2 separate regions of the Homo sapiens genome follow, and region 2 is linked to region 1. Evidence: promoter capture Hi-C in human tissues and cell types (Jung and others, 2019). All regions are on one chromosome and are shown on one strand. The core of a region is centred on a gene start or on the middle of the fragment in contact, and the rest is flanking DNA. Distances in the headings are between cores, read along the strand shown.

What was found. The method cuts DNA at HindIII sites, captures the fragments that hold promoters and counts their contacts. A contact is called where the count stands out against the background at its distance.
Region 2: a contact is called between a fragment that was not itself captured here and the fragment with the promoter of NACA2 in region 1, in 3 of the 25 tissues and cell types used here (aorta, dorsolateral prefrontal cortex and mesenchymal stem cells).

The regions. Positions count from the first base shown.
Region 1 is chr17:61,587,442-61,593,347 of GRCh38, forward strand. NACA2 (nascent polypeptide associated complex subunit alpha 2) reads right to left here and starts at 3,778. Exons shown (of 1, transcript NM_199290.4): 1 at 2,980-3,778. The coding sequence starts at 3,739. The coding sequence ends at 3,092. The HindIII fragment of the contact is 8,743 bases long and covers 805-5,906 here.
Region 2 is chr17:61,799,497-61,805,402 of GRCh38, forward strand. It overlaps BRIP1 (BRCA1 interacting DNA helicase 1), which reads right to left. Exons shown (of 20, transcript NM_032043.3): 8 at 1,757-1,978. Among named protein-coding and RNA genes, the nearest start is that of BRIP1, 61 kb to the right of the region's middle. The HindIII fragment of the contact is 4,813 bases long and covers 1-3,912 here.

The sequences.
Region 1 (5,906 bases), core at 2,528-5,027:
ACGAATCATATTTCTCTCCAAGAACCTCAACAAGGGCACCTAGTTAAAGGTGGTAACTGAATTTGGTTCCATCTACATAATGGCATAATCAAGACAGAGAAATGATAAAAATATTATGACAGCTGATGCATTCCCTAGAGACTGACAGAGTCCAGTAGCAAGGTCCAGATCCACACTGGAGTCTGTACTTGAACAAGATACAGATATCAGATTTAGTAACTAGAAATATTCCATCGACCCTCATCCCCACCCCACCCTTCCCCATAACAGACTCAATTATCAAGTGGCAAGAAAAATTCTCCATAGGGAAGCTTGGTGCCTTCCTTCAAGAACGTGCCTGCCATTCTACAAGAAGTAAAAATCATGGAAAATTAGTTTCCACGGGGAAGATCATCTGAGAAGGATGGGCAGTAACAACTTAGGGGGCAATGAAGTTAGAAGGTTGGCATAGCTCTTCAAGGAATGTCAAGACCATGGCCAGAAAATGCTCAACATTATAGTAAAAAGTTGAGGGAAATGTACCCAACAGAAAACTTTGATGCTCATTTTGAAGAAGGTAAAGCTGCCAGAAGACTGAGACACTGCTGAAAAAATGGGCACAAAAAGAATTACAGTGGTAGAGTTGGGATCTAAAAATGTACCATTTTTGCATATGAGAGTAGCCTTGTTCCACTTCATTACTTAATTTGAGTGAAGTGGAAAGAACATGGGCTTTGGAATCATGTAGACCATGAGTTCTCAGTCTAGCTCTTTTAATTGAGAGATCTATGATAATGAGTATCATCAACCTTTCTTAGCTTTGTGTTCTAAAATGAAAAGTAACACCTGCATATTAAGTGCTTAGCTTAGCATAATTTCTAGCACATTGTGGGGGATCTAAGTGAGATCTATTATTGCTGCTTTTAATAGATTTATTTCTGCAGTTCTGTTCTTGCCCACGATTTCCCTTGTGACCATTAATACATATTTCGAGGCTTCTGACAAGAGCGTGAAGGCACCATCTGTGCCATGAACCTTGGACTCACTCATTAACTTCAGTGAACAGAGCCAACCCAATCTCACAGTGGTGGGTACCCTGGAGAACTATCTTAGTTGGCAAAGGATTATCTACATTTCATAACATTTTGTTGGAGGTAGTTGAAGTAGGTGGGCTAAAGTAACTTTGTTTTGTGGTGACCTGTGGTCAAATTATGATGATCAATAATTTGCATATTGTTGTAAGTATTCACAACAATGAAGATGATAAGTAACAATTACTTCTAATTTATGGTCTCTACTATATTATGCTTTTGCTGAAGCTTGAAGAAAGCTCATATGTACATAGACGGTGTGTCTAAAAGAAACACGATTTTTAAAAAATGTCTGACTGTATACATCAAATGAGCAATACCTCCTACAAAGGAGCTCCCTTGGGAAGCTATACAAACATTGTTAACAATCCTGCATTAGATCAAAACACTTTTGGAACTTCTTTATTGGAATTGCCTTATGACCTAGTTTATGAGCCATATAGAAAACTCAGTCTCATTAATTTATAGTCACACATAATTAATTTTTCACCTCTGGTGGAGTTACCCAGCTTGATCACCCATTTTGGCTCTGAATGATTTTGCTGCTTCCAAAATAAAATCCAATCTCAAAGTGTGAGTATTTGCCACTATCTAGAGTGTTTAGGAGAACATATCACATGTTATGAAGGCAATTCCAAAAAGAACTCCAGAATTTCAGATTCTGGAATAACATATCTCATGGCAGTGAGTTTGCTGAGGGCAACTCTCCTCTGCACAGCAAGTTGTATTTAATAGTATATTTGATTTTAAAACTATTCATCCAACAAACAATTATTGAGGGCTAGCTATTGTCAATTTGTTCTTTCATTCATTTGCTTAACAATTATTTACTGAGTCCCTATTACTCTATAGGAACTGGGCTAGGAACCCAGCAGTGAATAGGAAAGACATGGCCACTATTCTTGCAGAGACTTCATCCAATTAAGAAGACAAATACTAAACAGCAAAGAGAGGCGTAATGAGAACATATTTCAGAGAGACCTAAGCTAGTCTAGGGATTAGGGTAAACTTTCCTGAGGAAATGATTTTGAAGCCGAGATTTGAAAGATGACTAGGAATGTTCCAGGTAGAGGGAACAGCATGTGTAAACGCTTGAGGGCAAGGGAGTGTGATGTTGCAGGAACTGAAAGACGTTCAGTATGACCAGAGCATTTAGGGGAATAGCAGAAAACTGTCAGAGGCCAGACCATACAAGGCCTAATAAGCCACATGAAGAGTTCAGACTATTTCAGTTGCTCATACACTAAAGAAGGGATATGCAACTCTGGTTGCAGAATGGATCGGACAGAAGAGAGACTGGAGGTAGAGAGACGGTTTAGTAGGTTATTAGGAAAATCTGGGAGAGGATGATGGCAGTAGAGACACAGAGAGGTGCATGAATCTGAGAAATGCTCAGGAGGCAGTAGCAATAGGACTTGAAGATTTACTGGGTGCCAGAGATTTTAAAGGATAGGGAAGAGCTAAGGATGAGTATCGAGTAGCTGGTTTGGGAATGAAGGGTATGATGGTGACTTTCACTGAGCTGGGGACACTGGAGAAGGAGCTCTAGTCATCCGGTAGAGGAGAGATGATGAGTATACTTCTGGCTATCCTGTGATTGAGGTGCCGGGAGAGTATCCAAGGAAAGACGGTAAGTAGGTGGCTGGATATCCAAATCTGTGTCTTAGGACAAAGATGGGACTGAAACTATTTGAGGATCATCAGCAAGAGAAATGAATCTGATCACCTATGTTGAGTGTGCAGAGTGAAAAGAACACAAGGCCTTGGAAAGACCCCTGAGATGCACTAATATTTAAGAACTGGGTAGAAGAAAAGATGACCACAAAGGAAACTGAAGAATAAGCCAGGGAAGAAGGTAGATCCGGAGAGTACGGCACTTGGAGACCAAAAAAAGAGAGCATTTCTTTTCTTTTCTTTTTCCAGCAAGAAGTCATAACTTTATTTATGATAGAAACAGTACAAATTTCAAACCAAGCTGCAGTTACTCCTTTGAGACACCAAAAAAAGTTGCTTTCAGATGGTTACACTGTTAATTCCATAATCGCATTTACAATATCATTACTGTTGTTCTTCAGAGCTCGGACTGCCTTTGCTCTCGACACATTTGCTTGTGACATGACCAATTTCACGTCTTTAACTTCTACACCTGTTTCATCGACCTCTTCCTCTTCACTCTCCTCTTGTACAGTTGGAGTCTGTGTGTTTTCTTGAATGTTTCCGACAGCTTCACCTTGAACTCTGAATTTCTCCGCAGCTGCTAGTTGTGCTTGCTGAGATAAATCTTGGATCTTGGCTTCCCCAAAAACTATGTAGGCATCCGAAGCAGGGCTCTTGTAGACGTCCAGTTTTGTGATGACAAAGAGGATATTCTTAGATTTCCAGATAGTGACTCTAGTAACTCCTGTAACCTGTAGAAGACCCAGTTTGGACATAGCCTTCCGTGCCCTCTTTTCACTCCGACTCTGTTTTGCTTTACCGACTGGTTCTTCATCAATTTCAGCTGCTGCCACCAGCCAGGCTTTTTGTGTGGTGGTCTGGGTGGAATCCTGTTCTTCAATCCCTGGTACTGATTCACCACTATCAGATGCTGTTCCAGACCCTGTCTCAGCCTGGGACTGCGGCAACTCCTGCTCTGTAGCAGGGACGGTTTCTGTGGCTTCGCCCGGCATTTTGTGCAGGGAACGCGGAAGCAAGATGGCGGCAGAAAGAGCGCGAGCGAGAGCGTGACCCACGCTTGTTGCAGCGGGAAGCAAAAAGAGAGCATTTAAAAAGACATTTGTCAGCAGTGCTACACTGCCATGAGGTCAAGTTGGAATGGAAAAGGATCTATTGGATTTAGAGACTGTAAGTTACGCGGTCTGAGTGGTGCGGTGTGAGTGGCACTTGGGAATTGGTTAATGGTCAGTTCCTTGAAAAAATGACTAAATTGGGGAATCATTTTTTAAAATTTACATTATTTAACATGCTGTTTTAACTGAAAACATATCACTGTACTTTTATTTGCCAATCTTTTGATAGGAGCCGTAAACCTTTCTTTGAGTATTATCTGTTTATTGGAATTCAGCCTCGGTTTTCTCACATAAATCATATCTATAAAGGTATTGTCTATCATTCCCTGTTTTAGTTTATTTAAAATAGACCAAGAACTCAAAGGTGCTCATGAAGCAATCTGAACGCAGAATCCTAGATATGTATGGTTTCCCTCGATCTTTTCTTGCTCCCCCAATGAATGGAAAATTGTAAATGTTTCCAAACCATTCAATTTAATTTGCACAGAAACAACTATTTTATTTTTTCTATTTATATTTCATATAACAGTTATATAATGAGTTTACGTAATAATCAGTTAAATTACATAATTATAGTAATAAGAATACCCAGCATAAATAGGTTAAATAAACACAACTGATTCTTGGTAAGCCTATAACTGTATAGAGAAAACAAAAAATCCATAGAAAAGAAAACCAAAAAACAAAAATCCGCGTATGTACTAGGCAGTAGCACGTTAGCTATAGAGTGTGCCGTTGGCTTCCACCAATATGTTTCACGAAGGCAACAGAGAGTATCAGTCAATTTGCATTATGTTGGCTAAATATACGTTAAGAGAGTTTTTGCTTTAGTTACAGGGGATGACTCAGAAGGCAGTTAGATTGCAGTGGGCTGAGAAGTAGGAATTGAAGAAATGGAAAGATTGGATTAGATCAGAGTACTCTTATAAGAAGTTTAACTGTGCGGGAGGAGACAGTGCAGTAGCTGAAGACATAATTATAGTTGGCGGATAGGTAAACACATATTCTTCCTAAGAAGAGACCTGAGCATGTTTAAATTCTAAAAGGAGTAGTTAAATACAAATGAAAGAGGGAAGTTGATCAGTCAAGGTTCTGAGGAGCCAGGAATGAAATCCATGGCACAAGTAGAACGACTAATCTTGAATAGCAGGAAAGGCATCCTTTTCATTGTAATAGGAGGAAAGAAGAAAAATATGGATTTGGGTGCAAGCAGATTTTTAGGTTTGGTAGCACGATGTCAAAGGAGTTCCCATCTGGTAACATTTATTTTTTTTTTTTTCTAAGAGGCTAGAGGAGCTGTCTGCTGAGAGTGAGGGGAAGGCAAGAGAGTTAAAGGTTTATGTATGATGGAAAAGATTTGGAATAGGTGCTGCATAGAAGGAAGAAAATGATCACTAAAGAAGCACAATAGGGTAGTAATTCAGTATTGAGGTCCTAGCTGAGATAGGCAAATACTGTGCTATATGCTGGGTTGAGCAGGTTAAATGGGAGGAACATGCAAAGATAGGTAAGACACAGTTTCTGTTCATCAAATGAGAAAGAGAGACATATAAACAAACCACTTAAAAAGAACAGAAGATATAAATTGTGGCATATTGTGAAAATTAGTAAACTAGGTTGCACACAACCACATTAATAAATCTTAGAAAACTTAATATTGGCCGGGCGTGGTGGCTCACGCCTGTAATCCCAGCACTTTGGGAGGCCAAGGCAAGAGGATCACAAGGTCAGGAATTTGAGACCAGCCTGACCAACGTGGTGAAACCCCACCTCTACTAAAAAAATACAAAAATTAGCCGAGTGTGGTGGCATGCCTGTAATCCCAGCTACTCAAGAGGCTAAGGCAGGATAATTGCTTGAACCCGGGAGGTAGAGGTTGAAGTGAGCCGAGATCACGCCACTGCACCCCAGCCTGGGCGACAGAGCAAGACTCTGTCTCGAAAAAAAAAAAGAGAGAAAGAAAAAGTGAGAATGATTATCATAAAAGTCAGATCATGATTACCTCTAGGAGAAAAGAGAGGAGTGTGATCAGAAAGGGACATAAAGA
Region 2 (5,906 bases), core at 256-2,755, 210 kb after region 1:
TGCCATTTTTTTACTCTTAAAATACTTTGCAAACCTATCGACAGCAACAAAAATATGTCAGTGAGTCTGGATCAAGGTACCACAGGCTACACAGAAAGGTATAAAATCCCACTATGAAAGTGTTTCCAACATAATTTTACAAACTAATTATAAGACCTTTAAAAATAAAATAACAATATAAGATTAAAAGCATAAGACCTTTAAAAGTAAAATAACAATACAAGATTAAAAGCATAAAACCTTTAAAAGTAAAATAACAATACAAGATTAAAATGACTCTTAAAATACTAACATAATATATATGTTTTGTTTTAATCTGTCCTGCAATCCTTCTCCAACATGGGAGTTGGAGAATTGTTCTTCTCCAACTCCCATGTGATGCTGGCAGGACTATTAACCTGTGAATCAAAGGACATCACCACTTTCACAATGGGGGTAAGGCCCAGGATTGTCAGTTAAATAGAGTATTCCATCCTTCTGTGGTCACAGTGACTGGTTCAGGTTCAGGAACAGACATGTGATCCACGGTAGGCCAACCAGAGTAATTTGGAGGGACTAATATGTGGCCATGCTCTTTTCTCCAGGTGAGCTAGCTGCTTATGGTTATCTTTGTTCCATAAGCAAGAGTGAGAACTTGCCTGAGAATAAAGCCATCACAATAAAGAGAATCAAGTATTTTTTCTTAAGCATTTTTTAGGGTAGGTTTGTGTCACTTGCAATAGAAAGAGTACTGACTAATACAAGGAACTGTCACAAAGCAATTGTCAATGAGTTATTTTGAGGAAGTAAGAATACACAGACAGCTGAAAAGTTGAGAAAAAACCATGGAAGAGTAGGAAATATATTGGGGTTTAAAAGATAAGTAGGATTTGGATTTGGACAGACAAAGAGTGGACAGGGCATTCCAAAGAGGTGTCATCAAAAGCAAAGATAGAGTAAAGAACAAGGTATCCTCAAGGGAGTATGAGGTAATTTTTGAAGGATTCAAATTGGGCAGATCCAGGTCAGACTATTGAGCATCTTGAGTGTAAGCTTAAGAAATATGAACTTTATCTCATGAGCAAAGGAAGCAATAGATTTTTAGGCAGATAAAAGGATGTAATAAAAGCAATATTTGGAAAACTGACCTGGCATTGATATGCACAGTGTCTCAGAAGGAAGAGATCTAGTTAAGAGATAACCAAATAAGAGGTAGGATAGAAGGGGTAGTAAACATAATGCCTATTAATTTGGATCTTAAAGAAATAGAAAGCTGAGATGAATTGTGCAGTCAGATCTGAAGACAGGAATAACAATTGACTATGCCAAATTATTCACTTTTTGTCTTATGCTGTTAACAATTGCATGTCTCTAAAAAGAACCAGGCAAACAAACACAAATGCCATTATCTGAAGTTCACTTCTCAAAGCTCACAAGGCATAATTTTATTCCCCCACATAAGTTCTTCAAAACATAGTTTTTTCAGAGAAATGTTTCTAAATAATTCTTTTTGAATATTCATAAATGCAAAGAGAAATCCTGCTGTAATCCCACTTCAGTCACTATGTTCCTTAAAACTGCTTGTTATTTTGGAAATTAAAATGAGTGGGTTGATTTTAACCCATGTTAGGATATGTTTTCAGTACTCTAATATGTTTACACAAATTTATTTACATAAATTAAAGCAAAAAAAATTAAAACATCTAAAAGCTTTTACATTCAACATTTACATCTCCATGAGTAGGAAGAAGGTTCTCATTTTTACACATATACTCACACTTTCCCTTATTTGTGCATCTAGAAGATAGTTGTAGGGACAAAATATGATGTCAGCATCTTGTATTAGTTCTCGGGCTGTGTAATATGGACAGGCCTTTAGTTTCTTCCCCAGGCTGACAAGTTCTTCTATATCCCAGGCTTTGCACATCCCTTGGAAAGTCTGTAATGTGTGCTGATCACTAATTTTATGAACTCCATGATAAAAATAGCAGGATTTTCCCTAGAAACAAATATGCATAACTGAAATGTGAACCAATATTAGCATAGAAGGAATAAAATAAGCTTATCTCAGAATTTGAGGAACATCATTAAAGCCACAAGGCTAAGATTTTACTGGCTACGCCACCACACCTGGCTAATTTTTTGTCTTTTTTGAGACAATACCATAGCTACAATCACAACGAAGTCTGGTTGACTCAGACTTAGATAGAAGTCCAAATCGGAAGAGCTCCAAATACCCTAAATTAACTTGAAAAAAATTTCTTTTAAATATGTTTGTTATGCCTTTTTTTTTCTGATTAAACTGATGTTAGGCATGAAATACTTCTGAAAGGATTCACAAAACAATGGTATCACTGGTTGCTTCCAAGGATGAGAATTAAGTGACTGGGCACAGGAGTGAGAGATTTTTCTCTGTAGACCCTTTTGTACCTTTTCAACTTTGAGCCATGTGATAGTATTTCTTATTCAAATATAAATAAGAAGGAAGGAAGGTAAGTAGGTAGGTTGGAATGTCCTAAGGGGAAAAAAAGAAAGTAAGAGTATTCACTACAAAATATTCAGGAGTACCAAAAAAAGCCTAAATTATCCATAATTCTATTACACAAAGAATGCACTAGAAACATTTTGGTGTATTTCATTTCATATTTCTTCTATACATGTGTATATAAGGATATCTCTACAATGTGACCCAATATTAAAATAACAAGAACAAGCAAGGCACGATGACAGGTGTGAGCACTTTGGGAGGCTTAGGCAAAAGGACTGTTTTAGGTGAGGAGTTTGATACCAGCCTGGGCAATGTAGCAAAACCCTGTCTCTACAAAAAATAAAAAATTTTCTAGGATTGGTGGCGTACATCAATGGTCCTAGCTACTCAGGAAGCTGAGGCAGGAGGATCACTTCAGCCCAGGAGTTCGAGGATGCAGTGAGCCATGATCAAGCCACTGCACTCCGGCCTGGATGACAAAACAAAGCCCTATCTCTAAATAGTAATAAAAACAAGAACAAAGCAAATGTTCCCCAGGCATTGAGGATTATTAACAATTCAGCCACAATAAACAAAAATTTTTATAAAGCATATTCCCTTTGTTTTCTTCTGTCTAGCGTATTAAAAATCATACAAGGAAAATCTTGACATCACTAAGCATCTTTTCGTTGCTGCTCATATATGTACATTGAATTAATGTGCCATAGCTGATGAACCAGTTTTCTTATTACTGGGCTTATAGACTGTTACCAATTTCTGCTTTAGACATAAGGCTGCAGTGAGCATTCTTATGCTGGTTTCTAAATATTTTCTTAGTCTATATTTTTAGAAATGGCATTATGGGATCAGACGCTACAAGGTATTTTTAAGTTTCTTGAAAACATATAGTGAAATTATCCTCCAGAAAGTATATATTGCTTTGCATTACCCTTTTCCCACATCCTTATCAACACTGGTGTTATCTTTTGTTATCTCTATCTTAAAAGTAAAAAATAGAATCTTGTTTTGATTTGTATTTTTTATAGTTTCTAGCAAAGTTTAACATAGTGTTGTATGAATAGTCTAACAAGGTTCAATAGTAATTTGTGTTTCTTCTTTTATGTTATCTACTAATGCCCTTTGCCATTCTATTACCTTTTTTTTTTTCAGAGATGGGAGTCTCACTCTGTCACCTGGGGTGCAGTGGCACGATCCAATCTTGGTTCACTGCAACCTCCGCCTCCCAGGTTCAAGCAATTCTTGTGCCTCAGCCACCAAGTAGCTGGAACCACAAGTGCATCACCACATATGGCTCCTTTTTTGTAGAGACAGGGTTTTGTCATGTTGCTCAGGCTGGTCTTGAACTCCTGAACTCAAGCGATCCGCCTGCCTCGGCCTCCCAAAGTGCTGGGGATTACAGGCATGAGCCACTGCACTCCACCCCATTCTATCACTGGAAATAAAAAAATTTCATTACAGGCTGGGCACAGTGGCTCATGCCTATAATCCCAACATTTTGAGAGGCCAAGGCCGGAGGACTGCATGAGCCTAGGAGTTCAAGACCAGCTGGGCAGCACAGGGAGACTCAATCTCTACAAAAAAACAAAAAAAATTAAACCGCAGTGAGCAGTGACCACGCCACTGCACTCCAGCCTGGGCAACAGAGTGAGATCCTGTCTCAAAAAAAAATACTCATTATGTGCATTAATAAAAAAATAAAATGTTTGATAAAACCCAGCCCTAACAAGTGTCTCATATACTATTAAAAATGTACAAAATTAGAAAAGTATATATATTTTTAGTAGAAGTATAAAATTCTAGTAGTAGAAGTACATAGGCAATTTGTCAAAAAACTACCAAAATTTAAAATTTTACCATTAATGTGAATAGATGTACCCTGTACTGTTAAATAGCCAAAAAATTGAAAATTAACCAAATGTCTACCCATAAGGGACATGTTAAATAAATTATGGTAAATTAATACAAAAACTTTAGCCCTTAAAAATGATTTAGATTTGTCTATGTGTTGATTAGGCTCTCTATGTTAAGTGAGAAAAACATGTTGAATAACGTGTATAGAATGATTAAATTCATGTAAATTGCTTTTTTAAAGAATATGTGCACATACATTATAGCAAATACATTTTTTAAACATTCTGGTAGAATAGATATATAAAATCTTACAGTAGTTACCTTAAAGGATTAAGGAGATGGAGGATCTAGAAAAAGCCTCTCTTTTCATTTTCTAACCACATACATGTACTACTTCTCTTTTTCAATTGTCATTGGAACTAAGTGGTAGAATAATGGGCCACTTTTATTTTAATTAATTCTACTATTTATTTTAAAACGATTTTGAAATAAAAATATTTATTTTTCCTAGTTTGCTATCCTTAACAAAAAACAACCATACATAAAATATATAAATTATATCAGGGATAAAAGACTTTGAGGCAGCTATATACATATGTGTGTGTGTGTGTGTGTGTGTGTGTGTGTGTGTGTATGTGTGTGTACATACACATACATATATACATATGGGTTCAAGCACTTCTCATGCCTCAGCCTCCCAAGTAGCTGGGATTACAAGCACGCATCACCATGCCCAGCTAATTTTTTGTATTTTTAGTAGAGACAGGTTTTGCCATGTTGGCCAGGCCAGTCTTGAACTCCTGACCTCAAGTGCCCACCTCAGCCTCCCAGAGTGCTGGCATTACAGGCATGAGCATCATGCCCGGCCAATGTATTTTTTACAAATACATAATAATTTCCCCATATATATATATTCAAAATATTTTTGTCTAATAATTATTAAAATTATAAAATATAAAAATAATTAGTCTAACAAGGTTCAGCAATAATTTGAATTTCTTCTTTTAGGTTATCTACTAATGTCCTTTGCCATTGTATTACTGGAAATAAAAGATTTCATTACAGGCTGAGCGCACTGGCTCATGCTTATAATCCTAACACTTTGAGAAGCCAAGGCAGGATGAAATGTCTCTCTCTTTCTGTGTGTGTGTGTGTGTGTGTGTGTGTGTGTGTGTGTGTGTGTGTGTAAAATTAAATTGTATTTGTATACGTCTGTATAATAAATTAAATTGTATATATATACACACACATATATATGCATATATATAATCTTTACATGTATTTTTATCTATGAATTATCCAAAAGGAGAATCCGTGTTTTCAAAACATACATACATCAATACATACACAAATGTATCTAGATATTGCTAGAAACAAAGTAAACCATAAGAGATTCATAACCTATAAAAGAATGTCAGCAAATCAAAGGACAAGACATGAATAGCTGAGGACCAGTTCTCCTAAAGCTTTGTATTCAGCCATGTTAAAGGATGATACCTGTTAGTCCTCCAAAGTATTAAAAATAAAAATTAGGAGGAAAGGACTCATCTAACTATATTTATTTAGGCCATTTTCTACATTATTTTCA